Linked DNA regions of Homo sapiens: region 2 is linked to region 1. Evidence: promoter capture Hi-C in human tissues and cell types (Jung and others, 2019). All regions are on one chromosome and are shown on one strand. The core of a region is centred on a gene start or on the middle of the fragment in contact, and the rest is flanking DNA. Distances in the headings are between cores, read along the strand shown. Region 1 holds the start of BARHL2 (BarH like homeobox 2). Region 2 overlaps LINC02609 (long intergenic non-protein coding RNA 2609).

Region 1 (6,178 bases), core at 2,498-4,997:
TAGGGTGGCTGAAACCGTATGTAATGAGACAGAAAATTATGGTAAAGATGACAAGTGGATGGGCATTTCCAACCGCACTTATGGACGATTAGAACACAAACGGGAGAAAAGGAGGGGTAGAGAAAATCGAGACAAGGAGATGAGTGCCAGGCTTGAAAACACAGCAAAACCTCTGCCTCAGATTGCCCAGGTTCCACTCTACACTTCGTGGCCCTGCGAGCACTGGCAGTCACTTTTGCTTTCTTAATTTCCCTTCTAGAGAAGGAGCAGTGCCAGGCAGGCTCTGCAGCACTCTAGCTCCATGTTGAGACAGCAGAGGCAGCCAGTACAGGGGACAGACCCACACTCCTTCCTTCTCCCTGTCCGGATGCTTGGCCAGCCGCCGATTCTCCAGGCTGCGGCTGCCAAACCTACTCTAACCCAGCTGGGCTCTCCTAGTCTCTGCAGCTACACTGACCAAGGCTTGGATCCTGCTTCTCCCAGCCGCCTCACAGGCCAAAGCAAGGACATTTACGCCGAGGCTGGTGGGACAGCTCTGTGGGAATAGCAATAGCTGGGCCGGGCCGTGTTGTTGGCTACAAACCTTTGGAACCAGCCTGGGGTGGGCCCAAGGGGTGCACCGCGCAGGCTCTCTGGACCTAAGTGTCAGCTGCACAGATGTCTCAATTTGAGAAGGTGTGGCTTCATTGATTTGGGGATGAAGTGGGGGGAATTCCAGCGGCTCGGGTTTCAGAGGAAAAGTAGCACCTGTTAAAGCACATAGAATTGCAAAATTGTCCAAATTCCAGCTGCCCTTTGGTCTCTCTCACCTTGGGGGTGTGGCTCATCCCTGCCCCATCCTTAAAGCACCCAAGTGCCCACTCCAGGGTCACTCTCAGTCCTTAGAGTCTCTGGAGGCCAGGAGGGAAGAAGATTGGTATAATGATCATGACTTAAATGGCCAGACACCTTTGCTCCCCCAAAGTGCCTCCCTTACCTGCGGTTCTGGTACCAGGTCTTGACTTGGGTGTCAGTGAGGTTGAGCGCTGCAGCCAGGTCCATGCGATCCTGCACGCTCAGGTACTTCTGCCGCTCAAAGCTACGCTCCAGTTGATTGAGCTGGTGGTCGGAAAAAGCTGTCCTTGCTTTTCGAGGCTTCTTGGCTCTCACAGGGGGACTCTCACGGCTACTCGTAATCTCCCGGTCTCCTTCCTCCTTTGTCCCTACCATAGAAACCCAGCCACGGTGGTAAGTTAGCCTGGAATGGGGAAGGACTGAGTGTCCTCCTGGCATACACTTCCACATTCCCAAGCCAACTACTGGCTTCGGGGGACTGCACTCTGCCACCCCTAGAACACACACACACTCACGCCTTAGCCTGAGTGTGGAGGAAGAGGATTGTTTTCAGACTGGAGAGTATGGGACCTTGTTTAGAGTTTCTAAAGGGGGTCTAAAAGGGTGTCTGATCTTCACATGGTTGGAAGTTAAAAAGTAAAAATTTTTTTAAATAAAACTTTTGAAAAGGGTTATTTTGTTATTGTTTCCTTGACTGAGAGAGATGCTGTCCCTTTTCTTTATTGTTTTCAGTATGACTTTGTTTCACTGATGTGGTGATTTTTCAAAGGGTCCCTCTACTCTTTTTTTTTTTTTTTTTTTTTTGAGGAGGCAGCATCTTTTTCATTTTACTTTTTTCTCTTTTCTGAAAGTTATAGGTGTTTGTTTTACTTTTTCAGATGCACTTGGGAAATGTTGGAATCAAGCTTTCTGAAGCCACCTGCATCAGGTCTTTTAAAGCTTCACAAAGAATATGTCACCCAGACACCGAGTTGAGCTCAAAATCACTGAGCCCATCCAGGTGACAGCATGGAGATTTCCGGATTCTATTTGTCAACTTTGGTTTTTTACTGAAATGCTGGGAAATCGATATGTCAATCCCTCCCTGTTTGTACCCGTTTGTGCAGTGCTCCTTGATCTTCCCTGCAGGAAGAACAATAATCTCTCTAATTGACCCACTGGGGAGGTTGGTGCACAAAAAATCGCCAGACCAGACTGTACATCTGTTTTGGACACTATTATGCTAATGCTATAATAGTAAAATGAGGAGCCAACATCCTACCTTCCAGTCAGTACATTTCTTTACCAGAAAAACAAGGATCAATAATAATAAACAATGTGTCTGTAAAGGAAGAAAAAGCTCTCCTGGTATGTTAAAACTTTTGCCATGCAAAGACTACCACATTTACTTATGAAATTGTCTGATGAGAAAATGGAAAAAGGGAGTTGAAGGACAATTTCCATTGTCATCTTATTTTTTTTTTAACAAAAAAGAGATTAATCCAATTTCATAAGATTTTATTTTTATAAATACTACCTCCTAAGTACTTGTAAGGGGCCAAAAATCTTTGTAGGATACAGATACTCAGTTGAGGCCATAGGGTAAGAAGGGTGCTTTTAAGAAACTTATTACAAATTTTTACGGGCTAACCACAATCTAATTTTTTTAAAGTTGCTCTGTTCATGAACTCAGAAATTTTTCCTCCATTAAAACCGATAATTCCTGTGATGATGTTAAGAAAATAAAGTGGGGGGGGGGTGAAATCACTTGTACTAAAGAATAAACACCAGGTTGTGATCACACCCACGCTAGCTAAGTGGTTTCTCTCTCCTACCTCCCCCCATTCCCATTCCCAAAGTCTAGGCTAGAAAAACCCCAAGTCCATCCCTTTTATCAACGAAAAGTATTTCCTGTCGGATGCCCTCCGCCGCCCCTCAACCCCCAGTAGATTAAAATTAAATAAAACAAAGGAAGGAGCTGGATGGCCGTGAAGGTTGTGGGGTAGAACAATAAACAGAACTTCGAGGAGTCCCCACATCGCACGCCCAGGCCTCCCTTCAGCTGCAGTCTTTTGACCGTCGCCCAGTCGCCCGAGAAGCTCCTGGAATCGCTCCCCAGCAGAGATCTGCTGAAGGCTGAAGGGGAGATTGGGAACCAGGAGGACAAGCTAGACGGCCGAGAGCGCCGGGTGGCGGGACTCACCGTGGCATTTGATGTCGCTCTGGGAATCCTCCCGCTTGTCGAGTTTGGTCTTGCTGTCCTCCTGCTCGAGCTTTGGCCTGAAGCTCTCGTGCACTGCGTTGCTCTCCTGCTTCGGGGTGTGGTGGGGAGAGGATACGCTGGTGCTGTAGGGTGCACATGCCGCCAGAGGTTTGCTGTCGCCCAAGATGTCCTTAATTAAAAAAGAAGACGTGGAAGTCCTGGGGGCCGAGGCGGCCGAGCCCAGCTGCTGGGGGGGCGGCGGCGGCGGCTGCTGTGGCGGCAGCGGCTGCTGCTGTTGGGGCAAAGGCTGCAAACTTTGCGTCGGGGCCGCGGCCGGCGGCGGCGGCTGCTGGCTGTGGTGGAGGTGGTGATGATGCTGGGTCGCGTCTGCTACCAGATGCGGCTCCGGGGGCTCCATGGTGACTGAGATAGGAGAAGAAGGCGCCGTCCCTACGGTATCAATCTCCGAACAGGGAGATGGGGTGGCCTGACTCCTAAAATCCGCGGTCCTGGCCTCACCGAGCGGGCGGAAATCTCCATTCATCATGCCTGGGCTGCCTGAACTGGCACTGGACAAAATCGTGTCTATTCCAAAACTCGACCCGCTGGCCCCTTCCATTGTCATTGCTACATGAGGTCCACGCCACTCCGCCGTTCAGCAGCCGCCCCGAACCAGCGAAGAAAGCTATCGATCGTAAAACAAAATAAACACCAAACAATGTTGCCGCCGCTTAAAAAAAAAAAAGTGGGGCGGGGAGAGAAGGAAGGGTAATTGGGAAGTGGCAATCTGTGGATACTTTCGACACAACTTTTTTTCTTTTATGCAAAAAGTAGGGGTGGAAAGAAAAAAGATGCGGGGGGCGGGGGGAGTTAAAAAAATTTCTGAGAAAACTCGGAACTTGCGCTCCAGGAACGACTGCGCACGTGGCGCGGCGGTGGCGGCGCGGAGGACCCAGGCGAAGGCGAAGGCGAAGGCGAAGGCGCAGGCGAAGGCGAAGGCGCAGGCGGCGGGAAGCTACGCCAAAGCCGCCGCCGCCGCCGCTGCCGGGGTCTGCCCACAGCCTGGCACCGGGCGGCAGCGGTGGCGGCGGCGGACGCGGCAGGTGCAGCGACCGCGAAGCCCGGGCGGCCGCGCGCCCTCGGAACTCCCCCGCGGCTCCCGAGGTGGCAGCCGCGCGCCACTCGGCAGCCCCGTAGCCGAGTTTCTGAACTTTCTTGGAAAGTTGCGGGGCAGACACGGCCGCAGCGGTTGCGGCAACCCGAGGAGGAGGAGGAAGAGGAGGACGACGAGAAGGAGCAGGCACAGAAGGAGGAAGCGGCGGAGACGCGATGCCGGGCGACTCCGGCCGCTGCCGGGCGCGTTCGCTTGTAATCCGGCTGCTGGCGGGCGGCGCCGACCCCCTCCCGTGACGTCACGGCCACTACCGCCGCTCCCCGCGCCGCGCCGCGCCGGGCCCGCGCCCCCGCCACCGAGGCCGCGCGTCCGGCCCCGCGCCCCTATTGGCCGCGCCCGCGCGAGCGAGGGACGCCGACGTGCCAGGGAGCCAATAGGCGCAGCGCTCGTGAGCCCGTCAGCGGACTCGGCTCGGACTCCGCTGCTCTTTTGAGAACCCGCACATCCCTGAGCCCGCAGCCCTGAGCCGAACTCCGAGTCCAGTGGTCCCGGTGTCCACAATCACGAGTGCGAGGCAAAGGGAGAGGGAGGAAGAGATCAGAGGGAGACCAGAGAAAGGGAACCAAAGGGGAGAAAGAAAAAAAAAAGTAGCAAGGATTCGCCCGTTTTCTTAAGTCAGAAGAGAGAGAGAAGAGGACGGGAAGGGACTTACCTTTAGGCTCCAGCGCGGCGGCCCTCGCAGCCTCCCCAAACGCGCGCGGGAATAGTCCGAAGACATTAAGAGCGGAGGAAGGAGATCCCTGAAGGAATCCACAGAAAAGTGTGTCACTTCAGGCGCCGGAGCCTTGCATAAGCGGGCGGGTCGGCTCTGGGCTCTGATTTCTCGCCCGACGAACCCAGGCGCTCGGGCTCAGCCCGGCGGGAGGCGGATCCCTGAGAGGGACACAGCCGGGTCCGCGTCCACCAGGCGCTCTCGGGGAGGACGAGGCCTGAGGCTCCAAGCTGGGGAACCAGCCTGGTCTCCAGCTGGAAAAAATGCCTGGCCAGACGCTTTCTCCCGAACGGGGGAGCTAATGCCCGAGGCGTTCTCTGGTGGCGAGGGCAGCCACGGTTCACTGCGGTGTCGGGCGGGCGCGGGGCTCAGGACCCATAGCGGCTGGTCTGCAGCCCGCGCCCCTGCCGCGCCCCGCGGCAGTCCGTCCACCTCTGTCCCCCGGCCCCTTTCGGCGAGCGCTCATTTGGAAAGGAAACAGTCACTGCGGATCCACTTGGGACCCGGAGCATGACTGTAACGCCTCGTTGGAGTGTATCAACTTGCATTATTTTCTCTAGGACGTCTCCAACCTGTCTCATGTTGAATGTCAGAGTAATGGGAAGTGCCAGTGACAAGACGGCGTATTACTCCTGATTAAGTGCCGTGTCAACCTAATTAGCAGAGTAATTATAAGGTGCTAATGAATGATTCAAAGTTCTTTGAGTTACATTTTACTCCAAATTACCATTTTAAGAACCCTATGAATCTGCGAGGCGGGCATCGCTTCCGTGGCTAGGTCTGGAATGATGTTCGAGTGGCCTTTAATGTCTCCAAAGGCTGGGCCGAAATCTGGAGTTTAGTTGCAGTTCTGGAGGTCACTTTCTGGGCCACAGCTTTTATCTGTTGAGGACGAAGGGAGGGGTGTCAGGGAGGCAAATGACCTCCTGGGACAAGCTCTTGCCTTTCGGTCGGAACTGCTTCTGTGTGAGCCCTGGGTCCGGAAGCGGGTAGCTGGGCGACTCATCCTGCCTGCGTTTTCCTAGGGAAATCGGTGTGTTTGACCCAGAAAAAAAAAAAAAAAAAAAAAAAAAAACAGCACTACTTGGAGGGTGGGTTGAGCTGTTTCTCATCGTCTCAGTGGCATTTTTCCTAGGGCTGTTCCGAGAGAACAGCGGGGATTGAAGGGACGGAGGCAAGGAGATGCACAATCCGGGCAGCTCTCGCTCTTCTCGGAAGGCGAAGGGAGTTTGGCGGAGAAGACGGGGTTGGTGAGCCGAGGCGGGGACTCCGGACG
Region 2 (6,178 bases), core at 1,443-3,942, 83 kb after region 1:
GTCTCTACTAAAAATACAAAAATTAGCCAGGCATGGTGGAAGATGCCTGTAATCCCAGCTACTCAGTAGGCTGAGGCAGGAGAATTGCTTGAACCTGAGAGGCAGAGTTTGCAGTGAGCCAAGATCATGCCACTGCACTCCAGCATGGGCAACAGAGCAAGACTCCATCTCAAAAAAAAAAAAAAAGAAAAAGAAAAAGAAAAGAAATAGAGCAATACCCTGATCCCAGAAGTCCCCCGGTGCCTGCTTGCAGTCACTGTTCTCTCCAGGGGAAATCATCATCCTGATTTCTAACCGTTTTCATTGTCCTGACTTATTTTTAAGCTTTATAGAATCATAATATAAGAACTCTTTTCTTTCAAAAATTTTTTGACTAGATTTCACAGATCATTAGCTTAACTCTTTGTATCAGGTGCAGACATTTCTCAATATTGAAGCAGAACTATTCCCCAAAAAGAAATTTTAAAGTATATACTTCAAATAAGTCAGTGTCCATTTGTGCCATTAAAATTGGATGGCTTTGTCAGACCAGCTACTTGGGAGGCTGAGGCCTGGGAGGTTGAGACCACAGTGAGCTGTTATCACACCACTGCAGTCTAGCCTGGGAGACAGAGCAAAACCATATCTCAAAAAAAAATAAAATAAAAAAAGGATGCCTTCATATAAGTTGATCCCTGAGTCTCTGGGGCCCTTGTGCCTGTCCATAGTAAGGTAATGAGGATCCTAAAAGGCTACTCCCCAGTGTACATGATAGACAACTTGAAAGGCAGTATAATGCAATGGAAAAAAAGATTAGCTTTGCAACCGTAAAGAACCAAGTTCAAATAAAATTGTCTCCACTTAACCAGCCGTACTATCTTCATGAAGTCACATAATCTCTCTGGGGCTCAGCTACTTCTACACCTGTGAAATGGGAGAAATATCTCACTCGAATGTTGTGAAAATTAAACAAGATTCCAAATATAAACTACTTGGCATACAATAGATACCTCATAAATGTTCATTCTCTTTCTCCCTTCAGAGACTAAACCCTGATTCTTCATCAGTTTCAGCTCATTGTGTACATGCATTCTAAATAGATATGTTTTCAATGGCAACTATTTGAACCCACTGACTAGCAAGTTTAAAATCATTTGGAAACCAGGTTTGTGATCCAAGGGAATTTAAAGTTGCTGACACAGAGGATTTTTCAGAACTGAGAAATGTCACCGTTCATCTTTTGGAAACTGGTATGGCTTCATGTCCTTCACATTTTCCACCATGCTGGCCTGGTTGTTTATTTATTAATGATTTCCATCATGAAACCATTGTTATCTCAGCTTCCTGTTATGGCCTAAAAGCACACAAAATCATCATTTTCTAACGAGCACAAAGCATCCAAATGCCTGTGCTTCCCGCGACATTTTTGTTTTATTAATAGCCATTATGCCAATCCGTTGATAATGGCCTTTTCAGTGAGACACACACACTGTCGCGTAACGATCGTGTGATTTCTGCATTTTTACCAGTATAAATATTAAAATCTCTGACAGATTGCTAATGAGCTGATGTTGGAATTACAGAGTAGTCTGTTATCATTTGTCCATTCACAGTTTCCTCACCAGCCCATCTGTGCTCGGAACACAGCCACCGCGGAGCATGCAGGCTGGGACAGTTTCTCCATTTACACCTTTTGCCTTCAGAAGCCTCTGGGAAAGCCTGTCCCTAATTAAAGATTTTAGCAAACATATTGCCAGCTTTCTAACACTGTTATTAAACTGCTCTCTTTTGTTAGAAAAGGTGCTGTTTGTCAGCAGTTTGTAGATTTAGATATTTAGTGTGTGTTTCTGTAACCCAGCAAAATATTTATGCTTTTAAAATAATTCAATTAATATGTTATGCATGTATCTACCTGTGTGCACAATAAATACACATGGCACACACGCCATCAAAATCCTGTTTAATTATTCAGACTCACAAGGACAGACAAAGAAACATGGTGTTTCTGCAGACACATGGACTTCTCTACAGAATAAGGTGGATTTGAACATTTTAAGGTTGGGACTATTAAAATAAAATGATCAGATTGAGATCATGGCTCAGGTAATTTGGGGCAAGGGCAAAGTAACTTTCATCTGAAATATTTGTAAAATTAAGGTACACTGAAAAGGATCTGATATTTCTAGCAGAATATGCCTAGTTGAGAAAACAGTGTTCCCTCACGTTAAAGGCTTAACTGTTGGAGCCATGGTTCTCAGTCAGTATGGGTGTGATTGAGGCTAGGTGGGGAAGGGCACATGAGGTCAGTGGGGGCGCTTCTGCATGCTCTCTCCCACCCCCACCGTCAAATCTGCCTAGTTGCAAATCAGTGCAGCAGAGCAACAGGGGAAGAGGACAGCTGCCAGATCGGAGAGCCTGCTGCCCCAGGAAAAGGCTCTCAGATCATTAGTCTTGGAAGTGAATTCATCTCACTCTTCCCAGGGTGAGCATACAGAGGGGTGACCCCTCTGGTAGTAAGCCATGTAAGGTTTTACAGACTAAAGCGACCCCCTAGAAAATCCTGAAGAGCCCGAGGTCTTCACTAAGGAGGCAGGAATAGTAACTCCCAGGGGCTCATCACCTTGGAGCCCAGAAGGTGGCTCTGCATGCTGCTTCAGAGTCATTCCCACCAGTGACACTATAACACTGAGGGACTGTGAGATGCATCTTCCAGTGTGGAAGCTTTGTGGCCACTTATTGCTTTGAAATTTTAATGTAAGTTTTGATATTTTGATTTAATCCTTGAATTAAATACAAACAAGTCTGAGGGCAATGACACAAATCATACAGCAAAATACATGTTCTGAAAGAATTTGCACACTAGAGAACTACTACACATCCATAAAAACCATGCGCTCTATCTAACTCCACAGGGTAGCCAACGTTAAGAGCCAGATGACTGGCCCAGGTGCAGGGGAGTGCAGAGGCCGGAGACATCCCTTCTAGTGAGGATAAGTTAAGAAGTTCTCCCAGAGGGGTAGAACCAGCACTGAACACTGAAGAATGTGGTTGAGTGACAGGGTAGGAGTGGGGGAAGAGGACATTGTGAGCTGGGAAGATGCTGGGAAAGGAAAAGGGATATTTGGGGCACCTTAAATAGGCTGCTTAGGCTAGAGCAGAGGTTTGTGATGGGACCTTGAGAAAACAAAGGTTTCTGGGGCTGCTCTGTCAAGGCTCAGGATCTGTACTTAATCTTGTTCTTGTTGTTGTTGTTGTTGTTGGTGATTTGTTTTATTTGTTTCCCCTCCCCCCCTTTTAAATAAACTTTATTTTGTAAAGCAGTTTTAAGGTCACAGCAAAATTGAGGTAGAAAGTATAGAGAGTTCCCATATGCTCCCTGACCTCACATACACACAGCCAGCCTCCCCCATTCTCAACATCCCACACCTGGGTGGTACATTGGTTACAACTGATGAACTTCCACGGACACATCATTATCATCCAAAGTCCATAGTTTGCATTAGGGTTCACTCTTGATGTTGTACATTCTACGGATTTGGACAAATGTACAATGATATGCATCCACCATTATAATATCATACAGAATAGTTTCACAGCCCTGAAGACCCTCCATGCTTCCCCTATTCATTCCTACCTCTCTCCAACTCCTGGCAACCACTGAGACCTCTATACTGTATCCATAGTTTTGCCTTTTTCAGAATGTCATATAGCTGGAATTATGCAATATGTAACCTTTCAGATTTACTTCTTTCATTTGGTAATATTCGTTTAAGGTACCTCCATGTCATTTCATGGCTTGATAGTCATTTCTTTTTAATGCTGAATAATATTCCATTGTCTGGATGTACCACGGTTTATTTATCCATTCACCTACTGAGGGACAACTTATTGCTTCCATGTTTTGGCAATTATGAATAAAGCTACTATAAATATCTATGTGCAGATTTTTGTGTAAAGGTGATTTCCATTTCTTTTAGAAAACACCAAGGAACTCAATGGCTGGATCATACGGTAGAAGTATGTTTAGTTTTGTAAAAAAAAACAAAACAAAACAACAACAACAAAAAACAGGCTGTCTTCCAAACGGCTGTATCATTTTGCATCCCCACCTGCAATGAATGAGAATTCCCATTGTTCTATATCCTTGCCAACATTTGGTGTTGTCAGTGTTCTGGATTTTGGCCATTCTAATAGGCATGTAGTGGTATCTCATTGTTGTTTAAATTTGCATTTCCTCAATGACATGTGATGTGGAGCATCTTTTATTTTGCCTATCTGCCATCTGTGTATCTTCTTTGGCAAGGTGTCTGTTCAAGTGTTTTGTCCATTTTTAAATTAAGTTGTTCATTTTCTCTCTCTCTCTTTTTTTTTTTTTTTTTTTTTTTTTTTTTTTTTGTGATACAGAGGCTCGCTCTGTCACCAGGCTGGGTGCAGTGGCATGATCTCAGCTCACTGCAGCCTCTGCCTCCTGGGTTCAAGCGATTCTCCTGCCTCAGCCTCCTGAGTAGCTGGGACTACAGGCAAGCACCACCACGCCCAGCTAATTTTTGTATTTTTAGTAGAGACTGGGTTTCACCACGTTGGCCAGGATGGTCTCGATCTCTTGACCTCGTGATCCGCCCACCTCGGCCTCCCAAAGTGCTGGGATTACAGGCATGAGCCACCGCACCCGGCTGACATTTTTAGTTTTAATAAAGTCTAGCTTATTATCTCTTGCATGTATCACGCCTTTGGTATTATATGTAAAAAGTCATTGCTAAACCCAAGGCAATCTATATTTTGTCCCATGTTATCTTCTACATTGTGATTTTTTTCTAATCTGATCCTGAGCTCTCTCTCTTGAGAGCAGCAATAAGCCAAGATAGCCACCCTCTAGGAGAGGGCTGACCAGGAGGAAAGTTAGGTTCAAGTGCTTGTGTCAGGTGAAGCACAATGAGGAATGAGGAATTGAAACCAGAATGCCTAAAACAGAAGAAATGTATTACTTACAGGTACCAGAGAGATTAGGGGTGCTGATAGGAAGTCATCAGGAAATCTGGAGGCAGCAGGGAGCTCAACCATCAGGTGGAGAGTGGGAGAGAAAGAAGACCTGTGGGACTTTGCCCTTATCAAGGGCGCTAGTCCTTAGGTTTTCCCATGGGAGCTGTGAATTGGCTACTTTAAAGAAAACATAGCCAGGCTGTGTGTGGTGGCTCATGCCTGTAATCCCAGCACTTTGGGAGGCCAAGGTGGGTGGATTGCTCAAACTCAGGAGTTTGGCCACCTAGGCAAAATTGGCAAAGCCCTGTCTCAACAAAAAAAATACAAAAATTAGCCAGGCATAGGGGTGTGCTCCTGTGGTCCCAGCTACTCAGGAGGCTGAGGTGGGAGTATTGCTTGAGCCTAGGAGGTTGAGGCTGCAGTGAGCCATAGTCACACCACTGCACTCCAGCCTGGGTGATACAGTGAGACCCTGTCTCAAAAACAAACAAAAATGCAAAGTAGGGGATTTTTTCACATAATTCTGGTGTTGACAATTAGATATTGACATCATAATCAGCAGCTATGGAATGTGTTGGGTTTTGGGTTAATGAGATGAGGAACAAGTGGGCTATATTAAAAATAACCACACAGAAAAAGTTTTAATGAGGCCAAAGGTGACAGGGTACAACTGGGTTTCAAAGAACTTATGTCAGGCCCCAAATATTGAAGCCAATGCAGCAACTATGTTTAACAAATTTATGACATTCTAAGAGTTTTATAGTTTTGTGTTTTATGTTTGGGTCTGTGAGCTGATTTTTGTGAAGGGTGTAAGGTCTGTGTCTAGATTCTTTTTTTTTTGCATGTGGATGTTTAGTAGTTCCCGAAAAGGCCATCTTTTATCCATTGTATTGCCTTTGTCAAAGATCAGTTGTCAAAGATCAGTTGACTATATTTCTATGGGTCTATTTCTGGGCTCTCTATTCTGTTCCATTGATTTATTTGCCTATTTGTTCACCAATACCACACTGTAGCTTTATGGTAAGTCTTGAAGTCAGGTAGTGTTAGTCTTCTAACTTTGTTCTTCTCTTTCAATACTGGGTTGGATATTCTGAGTCTTATGCCTCTCCTGTAGAGTCAGTTTGCCAATAACTGTATTGCAAACTGTTAGAATGTTGATTGGGTTTGCAATGAATTTATAGATCATGTTGGGAAGAACTGACATGTTGACAATGTTGGT

What was found. Contacts are between HindIII fragments. The study calls those that stand out against the background at their distance.
Region 2: a fragment that was not itself captured here is called in contact with the fragment with the promoter of BARHL2 in region 1 in 2 of the 25 tissues and cell types used here (hippocampus and mesendoderm cells).

Annotation. Positions count from the first base shown.
Region 1 is chr1:90,713,555-90,719,732 of GRCh38, forward strand. BARHL2 (BarH like homeobox 2) reads right to left here and starts at 3,748. Exons shown (of 3, transcript NM_020063.2): 1 at 3,017-3,748; 2 at 977-1,202. The coding sequence starts at 3,641. The HindIII fragment of the contact is 10,681 bases long and covers 1-6,178 here.
Region 2 is chr1:90,797,910-90,804,087 of GRCh38, forward strand. The region is part of intron 1 of LINC02609 (long intergenic non-protein coding RNA 2609); the gene reads right to left. Among named protein-coding and RNA genes, the nearest start is that of LINC02788, 35 kb to the right of the region's middle. The HindIII fragment of the contact is 6,888 bases long and covers 1-6,136 here.